Linked DNA regions of Homo sapiens: all the other regions are linked to region 1. Evidence: promoter capture Hi-C in human tissues and cell types (Jung and others, 2019). All regions are on one chromosome and are shown on one strand. The core of a region is centred on a gene start or on the middle of the fragment in contact, and the rest is flanking DNA. Distances in the headings are between cores, read along the strand shown. Region 1 holds the start of TLR10 (toll like receptor 10). Region 2 overlaps KLHL5 (kelch like family member 5). Region 3 has its middle 7.4 kb from the start of KLHL5. Region 4 holds the start of LINC01258 (long intergenic non-protein coding RNA 1258). Region 5 has its middle 63 kb from the start of LINC02513. Region 6 has its middle 19 kb from the start of WDR19.

Evidence for each region. Contacts are between HindIII fragments. The study calls those that stand out against the background at their distance.
Region 2: a contact is called between a fragment that was not itself captured here and the fragment with the promoter of TLR10 in region 1, in 2 of the 25 tissues and cell types used here (dorsolateral prefrontal cortex and lymphoblastoid cells).
Region 3: a fragment that was not itself captured here is called in contact with the fragment with the promoter of TLR10 in region 1 in 1 of the 25 tissues and cell types used here (lymphoblastoid cells).
Region 4: a fragment that was not itself captured here is called in contact with the fragment with the promoter of TLR10 in region 1 in 1 of the 25 tissues and cell types used here (lymphoblastoid cells).
Region 5: a contact is called between a fragment that was not itself captured here and the fragment with the promoter of TLR10 in region 1, in 4 of the 25 tissues and cell types used here (dorsolateral prefrontal cortex, lymphoblastoid cells, small bowel and 1 more).
Region 6: a contact is called between a fragment that was not itself captured here and the fragment with the promoter of TLR10 in region 1, in 1 of the 25 tissues and cell types used here (dorsolateral prefrontal cortex).

Annotation. Positions count from the first base shown.
Region 1 is chr4:38,781,107-38,784,563 of GRCh38, reverse strand. TLR10 (toll like receptor 10) reads left to right here and starts at 1,574. Exons shown (of 4, transcript NM_030956.4): 1 at 1,574-1,643. RefSeq lists enhancers at 2,253-2,422, 2,485-2,694. The HindIII fragment of the contact is 2,112 bases long and covers 890-3,001 here.
Region 2 is chr4:39,100,990-39,104,818 of GRCh38, reverse strand. It overlaps KLHL5 (kelch like family member 5), which reads right to left. Exons shown (of 11, transcript NM_015990.5): 7 at 1,308-1,532. It overlaps LOC105374418 (a long non-coding RNA gene), which reads left to right and starts at 3,056. Exons shown (of 3, transcript XR_925235.4): 1 at 3,056-3,095. The HindIII fragment of the contact is 7,362 bases long and covers 1-3,829 here.
Region 3 is chr4:39,053,039-39,056,547 of GRCh38, reverse strand. It overlaps a transcript of KLHL5 not described here. Among named protein-coding and RNA genes, the nearest start is that of KLHL5, 7.4 kb to the left of the region's middle. The HindIII fragment of the contact is 5,541 bases long and covers 1-3,509 here.
Region 4 is chr4:38,521,801-38,525,314 of GRCh38, reverse strand. LINC01258 (long intergenic non-protein coding RNA 1258) reads left to right here and starts at 2,135. Exons shown (of 8, transcript NR_110951.1): 1 at 2,135-2,212. RefSeq lists an enhancer at 912-961. The HindIII fragment of the contact is 4,596 bases long and covers 1-3,514 here.
Region 5 is chr4:38,302,550-38,305,961 of GRCh38, reverse strand. No RefSeq gene overlaps it. Among named protein-coding and RNA genes, the nearest start is that of LINC02513, 63 kb to the left of the region's middle. The HindIII fragment of the contact is 7,017 bases long and covers 1-3,412 here.
Region 6 is chr4:39,161,363-39,165,077 of GRCh38, reverse strand. No RefSeq gene overlaps it. Among named protein-coding and RNA genes, the nearest start is that of WDR19, 19 kb to the left of the region's middle. The HindIII fragment of the contact is 5,116 bases long and covers 1-3,715 here.

The DNA of each region.
Region 1 (3,457 bases), core at 325-2,824:
TGGAAGCCCTGAGCCTGTTTTCCTGCAACTAGATGGTCCCATCTGACATGATGGGAAGCAGTGACAGATCATCAGACATTAGATTCTCATAAGGAGCACGCAACCTAGATCCCTCCCATATGCAGCTCACAGTAGGGTCCAAGCTCCTATGAGAATCTAATGCTGCCACTGATATGACAGGGTGTGGAGCTCAGGTGGTAATGCAAGCGATGGGGAGCGACTGTAAATACAGATGAAGCTTCATTTGCTTACCCACCACTCACCTCCTGCTGTGTGGCTCGGTTCCTAACAGGCCATGAACTGGTACCTGTCTGTGGCCCAGGGGTTGGGGACCACTGCTCTAGATAACTCCTTTCCACCCTCTTCCTGCCTGATTGCTGAAATTATGGAGTCACCATTCCTACTCCTGCCCATCATCACATGACTGCCCCACCCAACTGATGAAAGGGATAACCGACCTGCACCTTGAAGAAAAGCATCATCAAAGAGCTCTAAGATGCTGTGGAAAACCAGTATGGTAGTTCTGCAAAAAATTAAACAGAATGGTCATACGATCCGTGAATTCCACTTCTAGGTATAGACTCAAAAGAATGTTAAGTACCAACTTAAATAGATATTTGTGCACCACGTTCACAGCAGCATTATTCACAAGAGCCAAAAGGTGAAAACTACCCAAATGTCCATTGATGGATGAATGAATGAACAAAATGTGGGACGTACATACAACAAAATAGTATTCAGCCTTAAAAAAGGAAGGAAAGATTCTATTATTCTATGTAATAATAATAGAAATGATATGGATGAACCTTAAAGACATTATGCTCAATGAAATAAGCCAGTCACAAAAAACCAAATATGGTATAACTCCACGGACATGAGGTACCTAGAGTAGTCAAATTCACACAGACAGAAAGTAGAATTATAGTTTCCAGGGTCTGAGGGAAGGGGAAAATGGGAAATTATTTTTTAATGGCATAGAATTTCAGTTTGGGATGACGAAAAATCTTTGGAGATGGGCAGTGGTGGTGGTTGCACAACAGTGTGAATGTACTTAATTAATGCCACTAAATTGTACATTTAAAAATGCTTAAGGTCAGGCGCGGTGGCTCACACCGTAATCCTAGCACTTTGGGAGGCCGAGACAGGCAGATCACTTGAGCTCAGGAGTTCAAGACCAGCCTGGGCAACTGGCGAAACCCCGTCTCTACAAAAAATACAAAAAACTTAGCCAGGCCAGTTGGTGAGCGCCTGTAGTCCCAGACATTTGCGGGACTGAGAAGCCCAGCCTCTTGCGGGCTTTAGCGCAAGAGGTCAAGGCTGCAGTGAGCAGTGATCACACCACTGCACTCCAGCCTGGGTGACAAAGTGAGACCCTACCTCAAAAAAAATAAAAATAAAAATAAAAATAGAAAGATGGTGAGCATGATAACTCCTATGTTATGTGTATTTGACCACAATTTAAAAAAGTGCTAAGATTATAATGAATATATATAACATGCAATACCAGTAGCATGCAGAAGAGGGCGGATGGGGTTTAAGCTTTACAGAAAACCTCGATTCAATTCCCTCCTGCAGCCAATTCTGACCGTGTCAACGAATCATCCACGCACCTGCAGCTCTGCTGAGAGAGTGCAAGCCGTGGGGTAAGAACCTTAGCTTTGTTTGTTGTAACTCTCATTAAAAAGATATAAGGGCTGCATGGGTATTTTCTAAAAAGGAGATAATTTGAGCTAATATTGAGGGGAGGGAAGTAGGGTTATTTAGATTTTTAGTATTTACTATTTTGTCTAGATTAATGATTAGTGACCTTGGGGCTATTGATCTGAGGAATTTCTTGCAGATGCTTGAGAGCGTGGGTTTCTTTTCACTGATTGCGGATCAAACCTGGTCAGCTCTTCTATTCAGATTGAACGGTCCTATGCACTGTGGCAAGTTTTTTCTAGCTCTTATTTCCCCACAGCGTATGTTAACCTCTGCTGGATGAAACCTTTGGCTATTTAAGGCATATTTGTTGCTCCTTTACCCCGTTGAAAAGTTCTGCATTTGTGTTACCTGTTTAAAAGTAGGGGCAGATCTGATGGATCTTGTACAATGCAGTTCTTATTCCGTTTCCTTCAGAAGTGGACAAAGAGGGCCATATGTGGTTGCTGTAAAGAAGAGGATGGTTAACAACCTGTGAGCATTTGGTTTCTTGATAAGCTTTCTCCCAGACCACCTACACTGAGCTATTAATTAGGAATAGGATGCACTTCGAGTTTTATTTCAATTCTTGTGAACTTATAACTTTCCTAAGAATATATTTATACATGTAGGCAAAGTCTCTTGAACTTTGTGGCACCTAGCAGAGTGTCCCACAGCAGCTGCATGAAGCTTCATAGACAGGGGCATGGGGTGAGAAAGGAGGAAGTGGCCGCCATGGCAGCTGGTCAGATCAATGGATTCAACCTCAGTGATTCGGTCCTTAGGATGTCGTTACATCTTAAGCCACCTCATTTCAAGGTTTGAGGTGCCTTGCATTTGGGTTTAGTTACCATCCAGAAGGAACCAGACAGGTCTGGGTTCAAATCTCTGCTTCTTCAGTTGGTCATCTTGGGCAAGTTACTTTACCTCTGGGCTTTAGCTCCTCCATCTGTAAAATATGAATAATAATGGCCGCCATTTTGTTGAGTCATTGAGGGATTAAACAAGGTAATGGACATAAAACACTTAGCTCCATGTCAGACACGTAGGAAATACTGAAAAGAAGTCATTCTTACTCTTATGTTGCAAAGATCATTCAACATTCAATAGGTTCTTAATCTCTTTTCTATTTCTTTATATCATTGGGAAAAGATAAATTAGATGATTAAATATTCTTTGGTAAAACACTAGTTGTCATTTGATGATGTCTTTTGACTTGGACTTTTAAATTATAAGATATTAAAGATGTATTAAGGAAGGTCATTCTCTGTTTTTTACCTGCTTTTAACGTAGTAGTAGGGATATGATATTAACATATATATACTATTTATAGACTACATCACCAACATGGTGAAACCCCATCTCTACTAAAAATACAAAAATTAGCCGGGTGTGATGGCAGGTGCCTGTAATCCCAGCTACTCAGGAGGCTGCGGCAGGAGAATCGCTTGAACCTGGGAGGTGGAGCTTGCAGTGAGCTGAGATCATACCACTTTACTCCAGCCTGGGCAACAGAGCGAGACTCCATCTCAAAAAAAAAAAAAAGTGTATGTCCTACTTTTAAAATTGCTTTAATGAGGCCAAGCACAGTGGCTCACACCTCTAATCACACCCATTTGGGAGGCTGAGGTGGGAAGATTGCTGGAGGCCAGGAGTTTAAGAGCAGCCTTGGCAACATAGTGAGACCCTGTCTCTATGTAAAAGTTGTTTTTATAAAATGTCATAATGCATAAGTATTGCCTGAGAGATAGGACCTTTACTATTGTTATATTAAGAG
Region 2 (3,829 bases), core at 85-2,584, 320 kb before region 1:
ACTTCAGCCTGGCAACAGAACGAGACTCCGTCTCAAAAAAAAAAAAAAGTTTATTTCTTAAGTTCAAATTTGTAACAGTTATTTAATTATAAGGTAACTTAATAAGAACATTGCTGCTTTGAATGACACAAAAATTTTAAATTAGGGCTTAAAGAAGACAGTTTTGAGCTATGTGATCATTTTCCTTTCAACTTGCTGCAGTTCAATAAAGTCTTTTGTATGGCACCTAGAACTAATGACAGTATTCAATGCACAATGTCATCTGCACGAAACAGCTGGACTATGAGCAATCACATTCTATGTACTATATCCATAAGGATTTAGCCTGTGTTAGAATTATATTTTCTTCCCCATGGTAGGGGAGGGGAAGCACGCAGTTGACTCACTCTATTTACCCTGGATTTTATGGTCAACCCAAATTTCTAAGTCTCATTCATGCTTAACTCACATTTTCCCAGTCTGTGCCTATATAATAGTTGATTTTATGGACTCAGGAGTAATGTTTTACAAGTTTACTGTGTTAAATTTCATATAGTTAATTTTAAGCTCCTTCTCTGTGTCTTTGCCTTAACCCTCTGGTTTTATTTCCTTATCAAACTTAAAATCATCTTTCACTGAGAACTAATTACAACTAGTGGAAATCTATGTCTCTTTGATCTTTTACTGTACCCACCACCATTCCCATTTCAATCTTCATCCCTAGAGAGTTTTCATTACTCTCTATTGTTATTTGGGGGAAGCCTCTACTCTGGTGGTATTAATAAATTGAGTATTGTATAAACCATACTATCTAAACTCAACCATACCTTCACTGGTATTGATCCTTTTTTTTTTTTTTTTTTTTGAGATAGATGTTTTGCCAGGCTGGAGTACAGTGGCACAATCACAGCTCACTGCAGCCTTGACCTCCCAGGCTCAAATGATTCTCCCTCCTCAGCCTCCTGAGTAGCTGGGACTATAGGCCAAGCCACCAAATTTTTTAATTAAAAAAAAAAAATTTCCCAGCTAATTTTTAAATTTTTTGTAGAGACTTTTTTCCTATGTTGCCCAGGATGGTCTTGAACTCCTAGGCTCAAGCAATCCTCCTGCTTTGGCCTCCCAAATTGCTGGGATTATAGGCATGAGCCACTGCATCCGGCCTCATCTTTTATGATGACCTACCAAATTCTTTATTGCAGCATGTGAGGAATGCTTGGTGACTGCTGCTGACGCAGTGGCTGCCACACGGGTCCTCTGCCTGGTTCAGAATGTAAATGTGCCGTGGGAGCTATGTGATATTTTGAGTGAATCTGCATAGTTGTACTTACCAAGGCCATGTCTATGTGTGGACATAGGTGGCATCACACTCCAAGTTTTTGTTTTGGGGTTGTAGCACTCTACAGTATTCAAAGTCTTCAGTCCATCTCTTCCTCCAACCACATACAGTTTGTCATCTAGCACTGCAACACCGAACTGTAGCCTCCTCCCATTCATATTTGCTACTGGAGTCCACATATTTGTACGGAGATCATACTTTTCAATGCTTGTTGCTCCTTCATAGTAATATATAGAAGTTATGTAAATAGAAATTATACCATGATTGGTAATTTTATGAAATTACAGATACAAAAATATAATCTTATTAGCATTGAGAATAATAATTTTATTATATTTCATGAAGGTCCTGCATGATCTAGCCTCTGCCTACCTCTGTGTCCTCATCTCCTACTATTCTCCAGGGCATACACAGGCCCCAGTAAGAAAAGGTCAAATGGACAAGGATTAACTGTCAAAGGAGGGTGAGAAACAACACCCAGAAGCGGGGGAGAAAAAAGCAGAGGCGTTAAGTGTCATGGAAGCCAAAGGAAGAAAGTTTATAGCAGTAGGTCTGCTAACAGTATCCTACTGAAAGGATCAAATAAGATGAAGACTCAGAAGTATTATTGGATTTAGCCACACAGAGGTCACTGATGACTTCAGGGGGAGGTTCCTTATTGAGTGGTTGAGACGTGACTGGGAGATGAAGAAACACAGTGAGCATAGAAGATTCTTCTGAGAAGTCTGGCTATCAAAGTAAGGAGAGATAGAAATTACTAGAAGAGTTGAGGAAGGTTTTGTTTTGTTTTGCTTTGAAAATTTGAAAACTCAGAGTTTGCTTAAATGTGAATGAAAAGGATCTGGTTGAGAGGAAAGCAGCTAAAAATACAGGAGATGAAAGGGATCATAACGAACATAATGAACCATGTTCATTATGGTTCGTGGGGAGGCAGGAAAGCACAGTATCCAGGGCATAGGCAGAAGAGCTGTCTTTCACGGGAGGAGGGAACATATTCTACTGCAATAAGCAAGGGCGGGGTAAGTACGGATCGGGTACTTTGGGAACTATGACGGTAGGGAGTTCAGGAAGTTGCTGCCTGAAGGCATCTATGTTTTTCTTTTCTTTTTTTTTTTTTTTAAGAATTGGAAGATTCCAGGACTCCTTTGTTCTCTTTATGAGTTAAGATGAGCAGATGTTTAAAAAAACAAAAAAAACAAAACCCTCTAAAAAAACCTAACCCCCAATTGTGAAGAGTTCAACTAGAACCCACTTCTCTCTTCTAAGCTTCTAATACATCATGTAAGCCGCGCTAGCCTTATAGAATTATAATCTTGACTAACACTTATTCTAAAGTATTTGTTATAATTTGGTCATCAGAGCACTAGTATTATTGATAACTTCCTAAAATTTAGAAATAGTTGTGTTATACATATAGATTTTCTCGTGTTATAGTTTTTATTATTTTTTATTTACCCTACAGAATTCTAAATTATTTGGGATAGACAAGTCTTTTTCTACCTCTGCATGCATATATATATATATATGTATACATATATATGTGTGTGTATATATATGTGTGTATATATGTGTGTATATATGTATATATATATGTGTGTGTGTGTATATGTGTGTGTGTGTGTGTGTATATATATATATATATATTTTTTTTTTTTTTTGAGACAGACTGTTGCTTTATCACCCAGGCTGGAGTGCAGTGGTATGATCTCGGCTCACCACAACCTCCACCTCCCAAGTTCAAGCAATTCTTGTGCCTCAGCCTCCCAAACCGGGATTACAGGTATGTACCACCACTCCCAACTAATATTTTGTATTTTTAGTAGAAACAGGGTTTTGCTGTATTGGCCAGGCTGGTCTCGAACTCCTGGCCTCAAGTGATCCTCCCGCCTTGGCCTCCCAAAGTGCTGGGATTACAGGCATGAGCCATTTTGCCCGGCCTTTACCTCTGTATTTTTCACAGCACCAAACAGAGTCCCTTATACTTAGTACAGCTGTTGAAAAATATGTTTGAATACTTTTTCTTTATAGTTTCTAGCTATAGTGAGGTTTTTTACTCATATGCTTACATTATAATAGTAACATACATAGTAATAGTATATTTAATTACTCTAAATTTGATCTTAAAATATTATCCCTTCCATTAAATAAATCAAATCAAATTAGAAAATTCCCTCCAACAAATAAAAAGCTAATCATCTTTCTTCATGAATACATTTAGGGAATACTTTTCTTTTGAATTTTAAGTTATTTCTTTTAGATCTAGTTTACTAAGCAGTATCATATTCATATGAATTGGTAACTAAAAGTTATTTTGCTAATTTCAAACATAAAGATATTAAAACACAGTCTCAGGTAGATATATATATATATATATATAAAATCCAAATATCCAAAATTAACAAAATCCTAATAATTATAAAATTTTATGTAAATGCTTGGGACTTCCCTAATTTATACCAAATAATTAACCTTTTATAAAAGTAAGCACAAATATACTCTAACATTTTCACAGTG
Region 3 (3,509 bases), core at 762-3,261, 270 kb before region 1:
CTTCTGTAATTAAAAAAACTTATAGTTTGAAATTCAAAACTAAGATTTCTAGCACCATGTTAAATCTTTCACTTTGTTAAAAACAACTGGGAAATACTTCTAATTTAATTGGTAAATGAAAATTTTAAAATGTCAAATTTAAATTCAGGCCGGGTGCAGTGGCTCATGCCTATAATCCCAGCACCCCTGAGGGTGGATCACTTGAGGTCAGGAATTCGAGACCAGCCTGGCCAACATGGTGAAACCCCATCTCTACAAAAATACAAAAATTAGTCGGATGCAGTGTAGTTCCAGCTATTCAGGAGGCTGAGGCAGGAGGATCACTTGAACCTGGGAAGTGGAGGCTGCAGTGAACCAAGACTGTGCCATTGCACGGCTGCTCGGGCAACAGGGCAAGATTGACACAATACACATACACACACACAATTTAAATTCAGTTGTATTATACCAAGACATCTGGCTCTACAAACCACATGGTAGACTGAAAACTAAGCAGTCAAGGACTTTGATATATGCTGAAAACTGAAGATGACTTCATGGTAAAAGCCATGTAATATAGGGATTTTATTTCTTTGTGTATCCTAAATAAATCACTGTAATATATACCTATAAGTATACGAGGGAAGATCAAGAGGAAAAAAATCAAGGCAAAAAAAGTAAATGGAGTAAACTTTAACCTTTAAACTAAACTATGTCCCTTTACCATATCACGTACAATGCAGGAACTGACATTAAATTTAAAAATTATAATACAGCATGACGAAGATACACACAGAATGCATATGATAAGCTAAGATATAGCAAGGCAAGCTTAGACAGCTGCAGAGGTCAAAGATTTATTTCCAGTCAACCTGGAACTCTGAGTACAGTGAAAGCCCCCTTTTCAGATGAAACCTGTAGATGGTCCACTAAAGAAAAAAGTCAATAATCATAAAAATAATAAATACATTCCTTTAAAGATGTTATTTTAACTTGAACATATACATGCACATTCATTTGTAAATCTTTTCATATAGGGTTAATGCCATATATTTGATAGGGGTCTCCTACTGAGTTTGGGTCCTTTGTCTTGCATAAGCTGTACCCACAATGATCCATCATCTATGATTTCCACTTATGGTTTCTATAAATGGAAACAGAACTTAAAAGCACTTCTGAAATAATATGAATACAGAATCCATTAGACCAGTGGTCTGTCCACCACAGGAAAAACTTGTGCCAGATTGTAAATTAATGCATCGCTTTCTTCAAGGAGAAAGTCTCACCATGAAAACAAAACATTTGCTGAACCAGTGTGCATTAGTTTGCCTAATGTAGTTAATTAATATTCTAATGTGCACTCCTTATATTCTTGAGGACCCCTAGTAGTCTGAAGACCAGGTAGCTGGTTGATGGCCTTTGACAGGCCCTGCTTTAGACTTTGATGACTTTTTCCCTAGTCTCTTAGAATTATCCAGCCTTTATCCAACTTGATAGAATTTTTAAAATAACTCATTTATATAGAGGCATCCCAAAGCATTCAACTTAATTTTCATAGGAAGAATTATCTTTTCTTTACACTTTCATCAATTTACATGTTTACTAATGTTTTATAATTACTATAACAAGTATAACTGTTAAAAACAGGTTTGTGAATAAACAGAACCAACTTCTGGTAAGTACTCAATTCAACGAGTAAGCAGAGATGTACAGGTCAGCTATGGAGCTGCCTGCTTACCCATGAGTGTTCAGTTGGCCCATGCTATCAGTAAGTACATTTTACAGCAGAAGAGTGTGCCTCAAGTTAGAGCTGTAAGTCAGTTCAGAAGCAGTTGGTGGAGAGCGCTTCTGCTGTTATTTTCCCACATTATCACTTATTAATGGTAGCCTAAGTGACACAGCAGAAAGAGCCTGAGTCAACAGCTAAGCCACTCACCAGCTAGCTGTATAATTTGGGCAAATCACTTCACCTCCTTTGTCTTCAGTTCTCTCTTCAGTAATAGGATTAAGTAAGTGGCACATCTAAGTATTGAGTAACGGTCAGGATTTATAGCAGCAGCTACTATCTCTTAAGTGCCCAAATGAGCACAATAATATATAAAATACTTTACACTGACTGGGGCATTTTGTTGTCAGAAAAACTCTGTCCAACAGGGGTCATTCCTGCCCCCAGCCCACCACTCCTTATAGATGAAGATACTGAAGTGAGATTAATTAACCTGACTTAATACCTATATCTGGTGAGTGGCAGGGTCCAGGATGGACCCTAAAAACCATATACTTTCGAATACACCACAGTGCTTCTTGCTTTCAAAGCAAGAAGTATTCTCATTCACTACTCAAAAATACCTTGTGAGGCAGGTAGAGTAGTTGTGCAAATGAGGAAGTAGATTGAGAGTATAGTTGACTTGGACAAGGTTAGATGTCTAGTAGAGAGTAGCAGAACAGACAAATTCTTTGCCGATAATATCTGACCAAACTAAAAGCAAGTAAGGCACAAAAGGCAGCGGGGAGGGGGAACAGAATACTTAAGGAACACATGATTTCTTAAATAAGAAGAAACTTAAATTAAGTTCATCGTAACTGCAGTTAAATGCCAAAATGACATTTATTCACCAAGTACAAGTGCCTCACAGATTTCTCCCTACTTAGCTCCCTCCCAATTGCTGCTGCTGTTTCTTACAAAGTACTGGCCCACAGTAACATCAAAAGAATCGTTTTATTCCACAACTACCTATCAGTACTGATACCTGGTAGTAAAGCAAGGGACATTTTAAAACTCAGCTAAATTAATATTATATAGCCTTTATTTTAAGCTCACCTGTAAAAGTTATTACAGCTGATACTACTATGATATAACAAAATCGTTACTTTTGAAAACATTCCTTCAGCTTGATGACTGGTAAAACACAAGGTTCCCTTGCTATCCACTCCTTAGATTTTTGTCAGTGTTAAGCACATATTTGCTGTGCACAAGGAAGAAAACTGTAATATCATTAAAAAAATGATGGAAAACCACTGCTAAATTCTTGCCTGATCCATTACAGTTGGCATGTGCTGAGACACCCAATTATCTTATGTGCCATAAAAAGTAACAATCTGGATAACCACAAATTTGTCTTTTACTGACTTCAACCAAATCCAGAAGTGTTTCTGTCTTTCACGTAGCTTTATGGTGATGGAGATTAAAAAAAATTTTTTCTGAAAAATAATGAATCAGTACTCTCCAGACACAAGTATAATCAATTAAAGTTGCCTGGGCTCTCTGATCACATAATGAGCCAATCACAGATCAACTTGATTCTGCTGTAGGACCAATCCAGATTTTGTAAATTATCTATTTTTGTTAGAACAGCATAAGTCAGGTAGGGAAAGGGTAGTAATGGGCAGTGAAAGCAATAAAGAGGAGAAAATGTGAAGCACTATTTCTCAACTGCTCATAATTAGAAATGGTTAATCACTACAAATGTTAATTAAACCAGTTAACCATTAAAGAAACTGCCTAGCTTGCCCTAAAACTAGACCCAAAG
Region 4 (3,514 bases), core at 744-3,243, 260 kb after region 1:
CCCGGTGGCCTGAGGCATAGTGGTCAAAGGACAGTGCATACTCAGGCAAAGTTAAGACCAGCATCGGCACCAATTGGCATTAGTGAGTGTAATTCAGCCATTGGGAACCAGCCAGGATACTAATCTGTGGCCCCAAGCTCAGCAGCCAGTGCAGCCAGGTGAGCTGTACAGCCCAGTGGGAGGAGAAGCTCACCCTCCTTCAGAGGAGATAGGCACCAAGGCGGGGAGAGACCATCCTAGAAGGAGGAAGAGAGATTGGGACATGGCTCCGGATTATTGAGCAGGCTGTGATGTGGGGGATGAGGACACAAGAAAAGAACCAACATTCACTGATCACCTACTCTGTGCCAAATGATTTTACATGCATCATCTCCAGTTCTTTCAACAGTCCTGTGAGGGGGTATTAGTGTCCCCACTTTACAGGTAAGGTCACAATTTGCCAGCGGTCACAGAGTAATCAGAGGCCATAGCAGAGGCAGAATCTGAGCACAAACCTTCCTGACTCTTTGCCCCCAACACAGGGTGGGCAGGAGTTCCCCAAGGGGCTCCAGGACTCCCAGGATGCACACAGTCCAACTCTGGTTGACTTTGTGCCTAAACTCTTCTTTTTTTTTTTTGAGACAGAGTTGACCTGTCACCCAGGCTGGAGTGCAGTGGCACGATCTTGGCTTACTGCAACCACCGCCTCCTGGAGTCAAGCGATTCTCCTGCCTCAGCCTTTTGAGTAGCTGGGATTACAGGCACCCGCCACCACGCCCAGCTAATTTTTGAATTTTTAGTAAGGTGAGGTATCACCATGTTGGCCAGGCTGGTCTTGAACTCCTGACCTCAAGTGATCTGCCAGCCTTGGCCTCCCAAAGTGCTGGAATTATAAGTGTAAGCCAGTGCGCCTGGCCTGTGCCTGAATTCTGAAGTCCCACCTACCATGGTGTATCCCAGGCCACTGATCTATTGCCCCACCTAGAAAAGGAGACAAGTCTGGACCCAGCCAAGCGGGTGAAACTGACAGAGGAGCTGGCGCAGGGAAAGGAAGAAGGGCTGTAGAGAGTATGTGGCAACTTGCAATTAGGTAGAAGAGTCAGTTACTCAGAATACCACATGCCGCAACCATGCCGAAATGAGTTTACTGTAATTCCAGATAAAAACAAAACTGTCGGAGCAGAGACTTAGAGACTCGAGGCAGGGTTGGCTTATTTTTTTTTCTATGGTTTCGATATAATTCAGCACTTTCACTTTGTGAAGATAGACCTGACCTTTATGTGGTCTGGAGAATGCTGACTCAACATCAGGGTAACCAATGGTGCACTCATGACCCGAAACAAGACTGGTGGTTGTCAGGGTTCTTAAAGCTCCACACTTGGGCTCTCCACGATCTCGGAAAACCGTGCCTTTATCAGAAATGACAGCCCTTGTTCAAACAGAGATCTGGATAGGTGCGCATTAATTTCAAACATTTTTTTAAAAAGATATTTTCCTGACTTTGTAAGAGGTAGAGTAGGATGCTGATTTAGCGTAGGTCTTTTTCCCATTTCCTACAGTAGTACAGATGGTGACTGAAGGGCAGATGAAAAAAGAAAAGGGGAAGGAAGGGAGGAGAAAAGAGGAAGAGGGTATGGGGGAAGAGGGATGGCCGGCAAAGGAGGCCCACTTTTACTTCCTTGGAAATATTTCGTTCATTTTGAAAACTCAAACTCAAGTTTCTCCTGGAAAAGAAAAAGGCTTGGGATCTCCCAATTGCCTATTGGTATGATTTTTATCTAGCTCCACTTTTTGATTCTTTAGGAATCAAACCGTGAACTTAATTTTTCCTCCTATTTGAAAAGCATAGGCAAAAGTCCTGCCCTCTTTTCCAAAACAAAATGCAGCATCCACCCCCGACCCCCACCACACCTCAAAGCCCCAAAGTGACATTTTCAACAGACTTATCATAAATCAAATCTGCTGTGCACACCAGTAAATAGTGCCAGTAAGCCAGGTGAACCAAATCAGATTTTTCAGCCTTGACTTCCAGTGGTGAGAACAAGGATGTGCTGACCTAGGAAAAATGACAAGTCATGGGCGCCCTGCACCGGCCCTTTCAGAAGACGTAGAACACTGCAGGGGGTGGAGTCTGGAATAAGGAGAATCTGGAATCAGTGATGACCTAGTTGTCTTGAGGGCCAGGCTGAGGAGAAGCCTGATGGGTTACGCTTCAGAATTTCATGTGCTCATGGTAGGTCCTCTGCATTTTCCCTGTCAGAGTGGATGTTGAACTCTGGTGAGGATGAAAGGGAAGGTCCCAGAAATGACCTATGCTCTTGCTGGGGAGATCCAACATCTGGCTCAAGCCTTAAGCAACAGCCCCCTTGTCCCAGTCTTGATTTTGGACTCTCCATGAAGGCAACCTATCACAGACAGCCTAGAGAAAGCATACCACAGCTCATAAAATGTTGCTAGCATTCTGCCTATTGTAAAATTATCTGTAGGAGCCAACCTGTGTTCTGGAAAGTTATGGGTATAAGACGACGTGTTATAGGTGATTTTGATTTTCTTAATTTGTTTAACAAGCTTGAATTTGAACCCCAACCATTGGATCAAAAATGTCACATTTCTGGCCAGATGTGTTGGCTCACTCCTATAATCCCAACATTTTGAAAGGCCAAGGTGGGAAGATTGCTAGAGGCCAGGAGTTCAAGACCAGCTTGGGCAACATAACAAGTCCCCGTCTCTATAAAAAAAAAAAAAAAGTCACATTTCTCAATTAACTGTGGGTCTGAGCCTTTGCTTTTAAGGGTTGAAAAATCTTATCACAATTACATTTTAGGGAAACCATTCTCTTTCATAAGGTTATAATAACACGCTCCTTGGGACTTATGTGGTGCTTAAAAAATGAGAGAGGAGGCCCTTTTTTTTTTTTTTTTTGAGACAGAATCTCGCCTGTCGCCCAGGCTGGAGTGCAGTGGTGCAATATCAGCTCACTGCAAGCTCCGCCTCCCAGATTCATGCCATTCTCCTGCCTCAGCCTCCCAAGTAGCTGGTACTACAGGTTCCTGCCACCACTCCTGGCTAATTTTTTGTATTTTTAGTAGAGATGGGGTTTCACCGTGTTAGCCAGGATGGTCTCAATCTCCTGACCTCGTGATCTGCCCACCTCAGCCTCCCAAAGTGCTGGGATTACAGGCGTGAGCCACCGTGTCCGGCTGGCCCCTTCTCCATCACTTGTGGTCATTATCCTTCTTGGTGCCTTTGGGACACCGAAATCCAGGGGATCTCCTTTCCTGGTGGCCTGATTTACTATCTGCAAGCTTTGTCACAGACATTCTTCCAGGGTTTGAGGCTGCAGCTTGCAGAATGTAACCATGATAACACCCCAATGTCTGGGAAGCCCTGTGTAAGTGGGGCAAGGATTTCAAAGAAACTCCAAGCCTCCACCCCGCTTCATAACACTGAGAAATCAGCTTACATGGTTTAGGTCTTTGCCCCTTCCAACTCAAAGCACCAGCTCCTATATCCTTCTGCTCTGGTGCAAATGAGT
Region 5 (3,412 bases), core at 261-2,760, 480 kb after region 1:
CACTACATGCTTTCAGAAGTCTCAGCCTGAAGTCCTTTCAAAAGAGTCCCCCCACTTAAAAAATTGTGCAGAAGAGGCCAGGGGTGGTGGCTCACGCCTGTAATCCCAGCACTTTGGGAGGCCGAGGCGGGTGGATCATGAGGTCAGGAGATCAAGACCAACCTGGCTAACACGGTGAAACCCCATCTCTAATAAAAATACAAAAACCAGATTAGCTGAGTGCGGTGTCAGGTGCCTGTAGTCCCAGCTACTTGGGAGGCTGAGGCAGGAGAATGGTGTGAACCTGGGAGGCAGAGCTTGCAGTGAGCCAAGATCGTGCCACTGCACTCCAGCCTGGGTGACAGAGTGAGACTCTGTCTCAAAAAAAAAAAAAAAATTGTGCAGAACAACCAAACCGAAAGCCTGAGAACCGTGTTCCCAGGCTCCTTAAATGTAATGATGTCCCTCATACTAGTACATTTGCGTCCGGAATTGGTGGGTTCTTGGTCTCACTGACTTCAAGAATGAAGCCATGGACCCTCGCGGTGAGTGTTACAGTTCTTAAAGATGGTGTGTCCAGAGTTTGTTCATTCTGATGTTCGGACATGTTCGGAGTTTCTTCCTTCTGGTGGGTTTGTGGTCTTGCTGGCTTCAGGAGTGAAGCTGCAGACCTTCGCAGTGAGTGTTACAGCGCTTAAGGCAGCACCTCTGGAGTTGTTCATTCCTCCCGTCCAGAGTTGTTCATTCCTCCCGGTGGGTTCCTGGTCTCACTGGCCTCAGGAGTGAAGCTGCAGACCTTCGCAGTGAGTGTTACAGCTCATAAAGGCAATGCGGACCCAAAGAGTGAACAGCAGCAAGATTTATTGCAAAGAGCGAAAGAACAAAGCTTCCACAGTGTGGAAGGGGACCCGAGTGGGTTGCCACTGCTGGCTTGGGCAGCCTGCTTTTATTCTCTTATCTGGGCCTACCCACATCCTGCTGATTGGTCCATTTTACAGAGAGCTGATTGGTCTGTTTTGACAGGGTACTGATTGGTGCATTTACAATCCCTGAGCTAGACACAAAAGTTCTCCAAGTCCCCACTGGATTAGCTAGACACAGAGCACTGATGGGTGCGTTTACAAACTTTGAGCTAGACACAGGGTGCTGATTGGTGTGTTTACAAACCTTGAGCTAGACACAGAGTGCTGATTGGTGTATTTACAATCCCTTAGCTAGACATAAAGGTTCTCCAAGTCTCCACTAGACTTAGGAGCCCAGCTGGCTTCACCTACTGGATCCCACACCAGGTCCGCAGGCGGAGCTGCCCGCCAGTCCCACACCATGCGCCCGCACATTCACAGACCATCCCATCCTATTCACATTTAACCTGAGGAATGTGTTTCCTAATTACATCAAAGTTCCACAGGACAGCAAGATCAAACAGAGAATAAAAAACATAATGGAATATACAGCAGCTCCTTCTGAAGAAACTTCCTCAGTCAACACATCTCCTAAAACTTGCTCCCCTCATTCTTTTGTCAGCAGATCACTCTTTTATGAACTGAAAACCCATTGGCATTATTCATACTAACTCTAAACCACAAATTTTGGGGGATGGGTTCTCTATTGACATATAATTGACAAAATAAAAATTGTATATATTTAAGATGGACAATGTAATGTCTTGATATACATGTATATTGTGAAATGATTACCACAAGCTGATTAACATATCCATCATCTCATATAAGTTACCATTTTTTTGTATGTGGTGAGAATATTTAAGAGCTATTCTCTTAGCAAATTGCATGTATATTCTACAGTAATATTAACTATAATCACCATGCTGTATATAATATCTCTAGAACTTATTCATCCTGCATAACTGAAACCTTTTACCCTTTGCCAAACATCCCCCCATTTCCCTCCCTCTCCACCCTCCAGACCTTGGAAATCACCATTCTAATCTCTATTTTATGAATTTGACTTTTAGAATCCACATGTAATTGAGATTGATGGCAACAGTGGGCCATCTGGAGCAACCGCTGCCATCACACTGGCTGCAGCAGGGAGGTGCAGCAGGGGGCTGCATGCTCCACAGAGTGGGCAGGAGCCAGGGATAAGTGGGAGCCCCATCCCTTTCAAGTTGGGGCAGGAGTTCTCTGGGAGCCACTGCAGCCACCCAAGATATGGCTGTGAACCCAGGCATCCCTGTGCTCTCATGGTCCAGGAGCAGGCGGGAGTCCCACTCTTTCAGGTGCAGCTGCAGCCGTTCAAACTGCAGCTGCAGACCTGGACCTCCTGCTCCATGGAGCAGGCAGGAGCCCTGCCCCTGGCACAGTTGCAGCTGCCCAAATTTCAGTAGTGGACCCAGGCATCCCTGTACTCTTGGGGGCCCAGGAAGGACCCACACCCCACCTTCACAGGCTTATAAATGCCTGCTTCCACTGCCTAGCTTCTCCTTGCTGTCAGTGCCCACTGTGATCTTGGAACAAAGTTGAGACTGAGCCCAGGCACTGTCACAGCCCAGCCAGGTGTGCAAACACTCAGGGCAGTGCTGACACACCAGCCCCCTGCCACCTTGGCCCCCTCCAGGTTTGGGGGGTCTGTGAGCATAGTAAGGAAACTATAGGGGGAGCTGAGGGCAGGGAGGGCCTGAAGGCTGGGGCCAAGCTGCCAGTCCCATGGACCAGAGTGGGAACTTGTGGTGCCTTTTCCAGGACTGCCCATGGCCACCCATGGACCAGTTGGCCTGCACTTCCTCCCCTCTAAGGCCCATAAAAGCCCCAGGCTCAGCCAGAGCTGAGCAGACTTCAGGATGGCTGGCTGCAGAAAGGAGCTACCAACCCCAGGGCCTCTTCTCTGCTGAGAGCAGGAGATAGAGGATGACTGGCTGCAGAGATGAGCTACCCACTCCAGAGCCTCCTCTCTGCTGAGAGCTACAGATGACAGGACAACCCGCTGCAGAGAGGAGCTACCCTTTCTTTTGAGAGCTGGAACAGACAATGGGGCAACCAGCTGCAGAGAGGAGCTACCCTCCCTGCTGGGAGCGAACACTTGTTGAGACAACTTGCCTAGCAGAGAGGAGCTACCCCTGAATGTAAAACAAAGGTTTAAATAAATAAATAAAGCAGCTGATTTTTGTATCCTGCAACTTTATAAAGTTTATTAGTTCTAATAGAGTTTTTGGTACAGTTTTCTACATATAAGATTATTCCATCTCCAGAGACAATTTTATTTCTTCCTTTCCTATTAATATTTGGATGCCTTTTGTTTCATTTTTGTGCCTGAATGTTCTGGCTAGGACTGCCAGTACTATATTCAATACAAGTGGCAAGTGTGGGCCTTGTTTTCATCTTCCTGATCTTACAGGAAAAGCTTTCAGCTTTTCACCATTGATTCTGATGTTAGTTTTGGGCTTGTCATATATACCCTTTATTATGTTGAGTTA
Region 6 (3,715 bases), core at 534-3,033, 380 kb before region 1:
TATGTATTTTTAATTTTAATAGATTTATCAGAGTGATTTTCAAAAAGATTATAATGCTTAATGCTCCCACTAGCAACTTATGAAAGTACTTTTCCTTCACTTTCTCACCAGAAACGATCAACAATTTTCATAGGTTCTCTTAATTTTTGCTAGTCTGATAGGAATAAAGTTTCATTCTTACTTTAACTTGCATTTCCCTGAGAGCTAATGAATTTGAACACTTTTCATATGTTTGTTGGCTATTTCAATTTGTTCTTCTGCTATCTAACTTTATGGAGTTGTTTTTCTTTTTTTATTGTCAATTTGTAAGAGCTCTTTTTCATATTCTTGTGTAGTTAAACATGTCTATTTTAAAAATAGCTACTTGGTTTCTAGTCTTGGCTTTGAAGTTTTTATCTGTTTATAGGAGACTTTATTGAATGATTTTAATTTTTTTACACTTAAGTCTTTAATATAGAATTAGTTTTTACATATGGTATAAGATGCAGATCTTCTTTTATACTAAACTCAGCCCAAACTCCTCTCCAGACCTTCACCCGGGGTAGAGAGCTTGCTACCTCCTAATTGTGTTAAAATACCACATATATTTTTATTATACTCAGGAGGGGGTCCTATGGCCAGGACACCTTATATTTATTTAGTGTATCAATCCGTTTTCATGCTGCTGATATAGACATACCCGAGACTGGGAAGAAGAAGAGGTTTAATGGACTTACAGTCCCACAGGGCTGGGGAGGCCCCACAATCATGGCAGAAGGCAAGGAGGAGCAAGTCGCATCTTCAGTGGATGGCGGCAGGCAGAGAGAGAGCTTGTGCAGGGGAACCCCTCTTTATAAAACCATCAGATCGCGTGAGACTTATTCACTATCATGAAAACAGCACCAGAAAGACCCGCCCCCATGATTCAATTACCTTTCACTGGCACTGGGTCCCTCCCACGACACGTAGGAATTGTGGGAGTAACAATTCAAGATGAGATTTGGGTGAGGACACAGCCAAACCATATCAATTAATTCAGTCTCAGAAGAAATCTTTCCAGAAAGTCAAACTGATGCTCTACTTTTGGCCTAGAATTCTGGTAGAGGCAAGAATGTAAACATTCCACATTAGTCTCCTCTTTATTCTGTCTTTTTTTTTTTTTTTTTGGTTAGATTTTGTTTTTTTGTTTTCTATAAGGTCTTAGTAACTTACATAATTCCCCTACTTTCACTGACTTTATTCTATTTTTATTAACTAACCTTACATTTCTCCCTCTTCTTAATCATTTTCCTTATGATTAATATTGCCCACTCAACAATCCTTAGTCCTACCAAAGGACTTTTTTTGGAAGTCTTTTAGGAATGCTAGAACTTACTGATATACTATACCCATTGTTATCTTTTTTATTATATTATAAAATTCTACTATCTTAGTTTTTCATTTTTACTATTCACTTTTACCTCAAGTTTGATAAATATTACATAATAAATAAAAATTACATAATAATAAATTGACCATAATAATATGGTCAATTTAACATATTTTCAAGAAATTGGCTGAGACATTTTTCAAGCTTGTGAACATAATTTTTTCAACATTGCAAAAACCTAGTAACTAAACGAAGCTGGTAGATAATGACCATTGCACATTTGATCTTTAAACATGATATTAAACATCACATTTGGGTTCTTAAAAAATTTATTTTTGTGCATTGCCTTACAATACATATTTATATTTTAAGTGTTTCTATTGTAAAATGATAAGACTTGCTTAAGGACCACATGGTGTAATAGCAAATTGAACTTGGTCATGAACCTCTACTTTAAACCCAGTTCATGGAACTTACTGATTCTTTGACCTTGGGAAAATTATCTCCTCTGAACCTGTGCTCCCATGTATAAAATAGGAATAAAAATGTTTATGGAATTTAGTTTTAGAGACAATTTAATCAGTTAAAAAGAAAGAGAAAAGAAAACAAAATCCAATTATCAATGTATATTACTTTTTTTGCATATTTCCTTCTGGTTTTTGCCCCTATGTATATCTATTTTACTATGTATTTATGAATATGGTATATGTGTATATTTAACACGTTTATTTAGGTCAAATAAAAAATTTAACACATTTATTATGCTGTTCAGTATCGAGCAATAAAAAAGCATATAATCTTAAATAGATTTTTAGTTTTCTCATAACAAATAAGTCAACTTATTTGCATTTCAAATTGCAGTTCCTGGCTGATGCTGATTTTGCTGGTCCAGGGAGCACACTTTGAGGTCACTGATCCCTAGATAATTGTTTCCAAAATCCCATTCACTTTTTGTCATATGAGTTATATGAAAAACAGCATGTATTTTTTAATATTGATTGTTTATGAAGCAACAAATCTTTTCCTATTATATGCCTTCTGAAAGTCACTTTTCAGTTTATTATTTTTAAGCTGCAAGATGCATTTGATATTTTATATAATTTTATTGTCTTATATCATTTTATAATTTTAAAATTAGGGACCCTGATTACTGCCTCATTTTCTGATTTTTATTATGTATTCTGTTTTTTCTCGTTAGGCTGACAGAATAGATAAGAAGATTTCAGTAGGTAGATATAAGGGAAGGGATATTTAGAGGTAATGAGGTAGAGTGGAAAACACAGACAAACTGATCTGAACTCAGTAATAATCCTTTAATAACTTGGAAATAACTTTCTCAGCTTCACTTTTCTTGTCTATAATACAGCTAATAATATCCACTTTAGAGGGTTGTTAAAAAGATGAGATAACATATATGATGGTTGCTAGCCATGCGTGGTCTATAGTAGGCACTCAATAAGTAATAGGTGAGGTAATGTTGTTACTGTTATTAAGCAACGAGAAGTTCAAGGTTGAAATTGTTTTTTATTTCAACATTATAATTCATGTATATCGCAATAAATCTTGATAAAAATAAAGGTATAATACCCATCAAACTAATAAAAAACATTTTCTAGGTTGAAAAATGACAGATGCAATTTCTTCAAAAAAGAAAATGTATGGAGGAGAATATCCAGACAGTGATGACAGGAAGCAATAGAGATTACACAAGATCGGAGTAAAATGTTCATAATTGTTAAAGCTGGGGGATAATCACATGGGAATTTATTATACTATTGTGTCTATTCTTATGTATGCCTGAACGTTTTCATAATAAAAAGTTTCAGGCTGGGCGCAGTGGCTCACGCCTGTAATTCCAGCCCTTTGAGAGTCCAAGGCAGGAGGATTGCTTGAGCCCAGGAATTTAAAACCAGCCTGGGCAGCATAGTGAGACCCTGCCTCTACAAAAAAATTTAAAAATTAGCTGGGTGGGCTGGGTGTGGCGGCTCATGCCTGTAGTCCCAGCACATTGGAAGACCGAAGCTGGTGGATCACTTGAGCTCACAAGTTCAAGACCAGCCTAGGCAACATGACGAAACCCCATTTCTACAAAAAATACCAAAAAAAAAAAAAAAAAGAAGAAAGAAGGAAGGAAGGAAGGAAAAGAAAAAATTAACTGGATGTGGTGGGTCACGCCTGTAGTCCCAACTACTTGGGAGGCTGAGGTGGGAGAATCGCTTGAACCCAGGAGGTGGAGGTTGCAGTGAGCCAAGATCATGCCACTGCACTCCAGCCTGGGTGACTGCAGTGAGACCTTGTCTCATAAAAACAAAAAAACCCCACAAAATTATTTTAAAATCAATGCTCTCATTTAACAAACATTTTCTG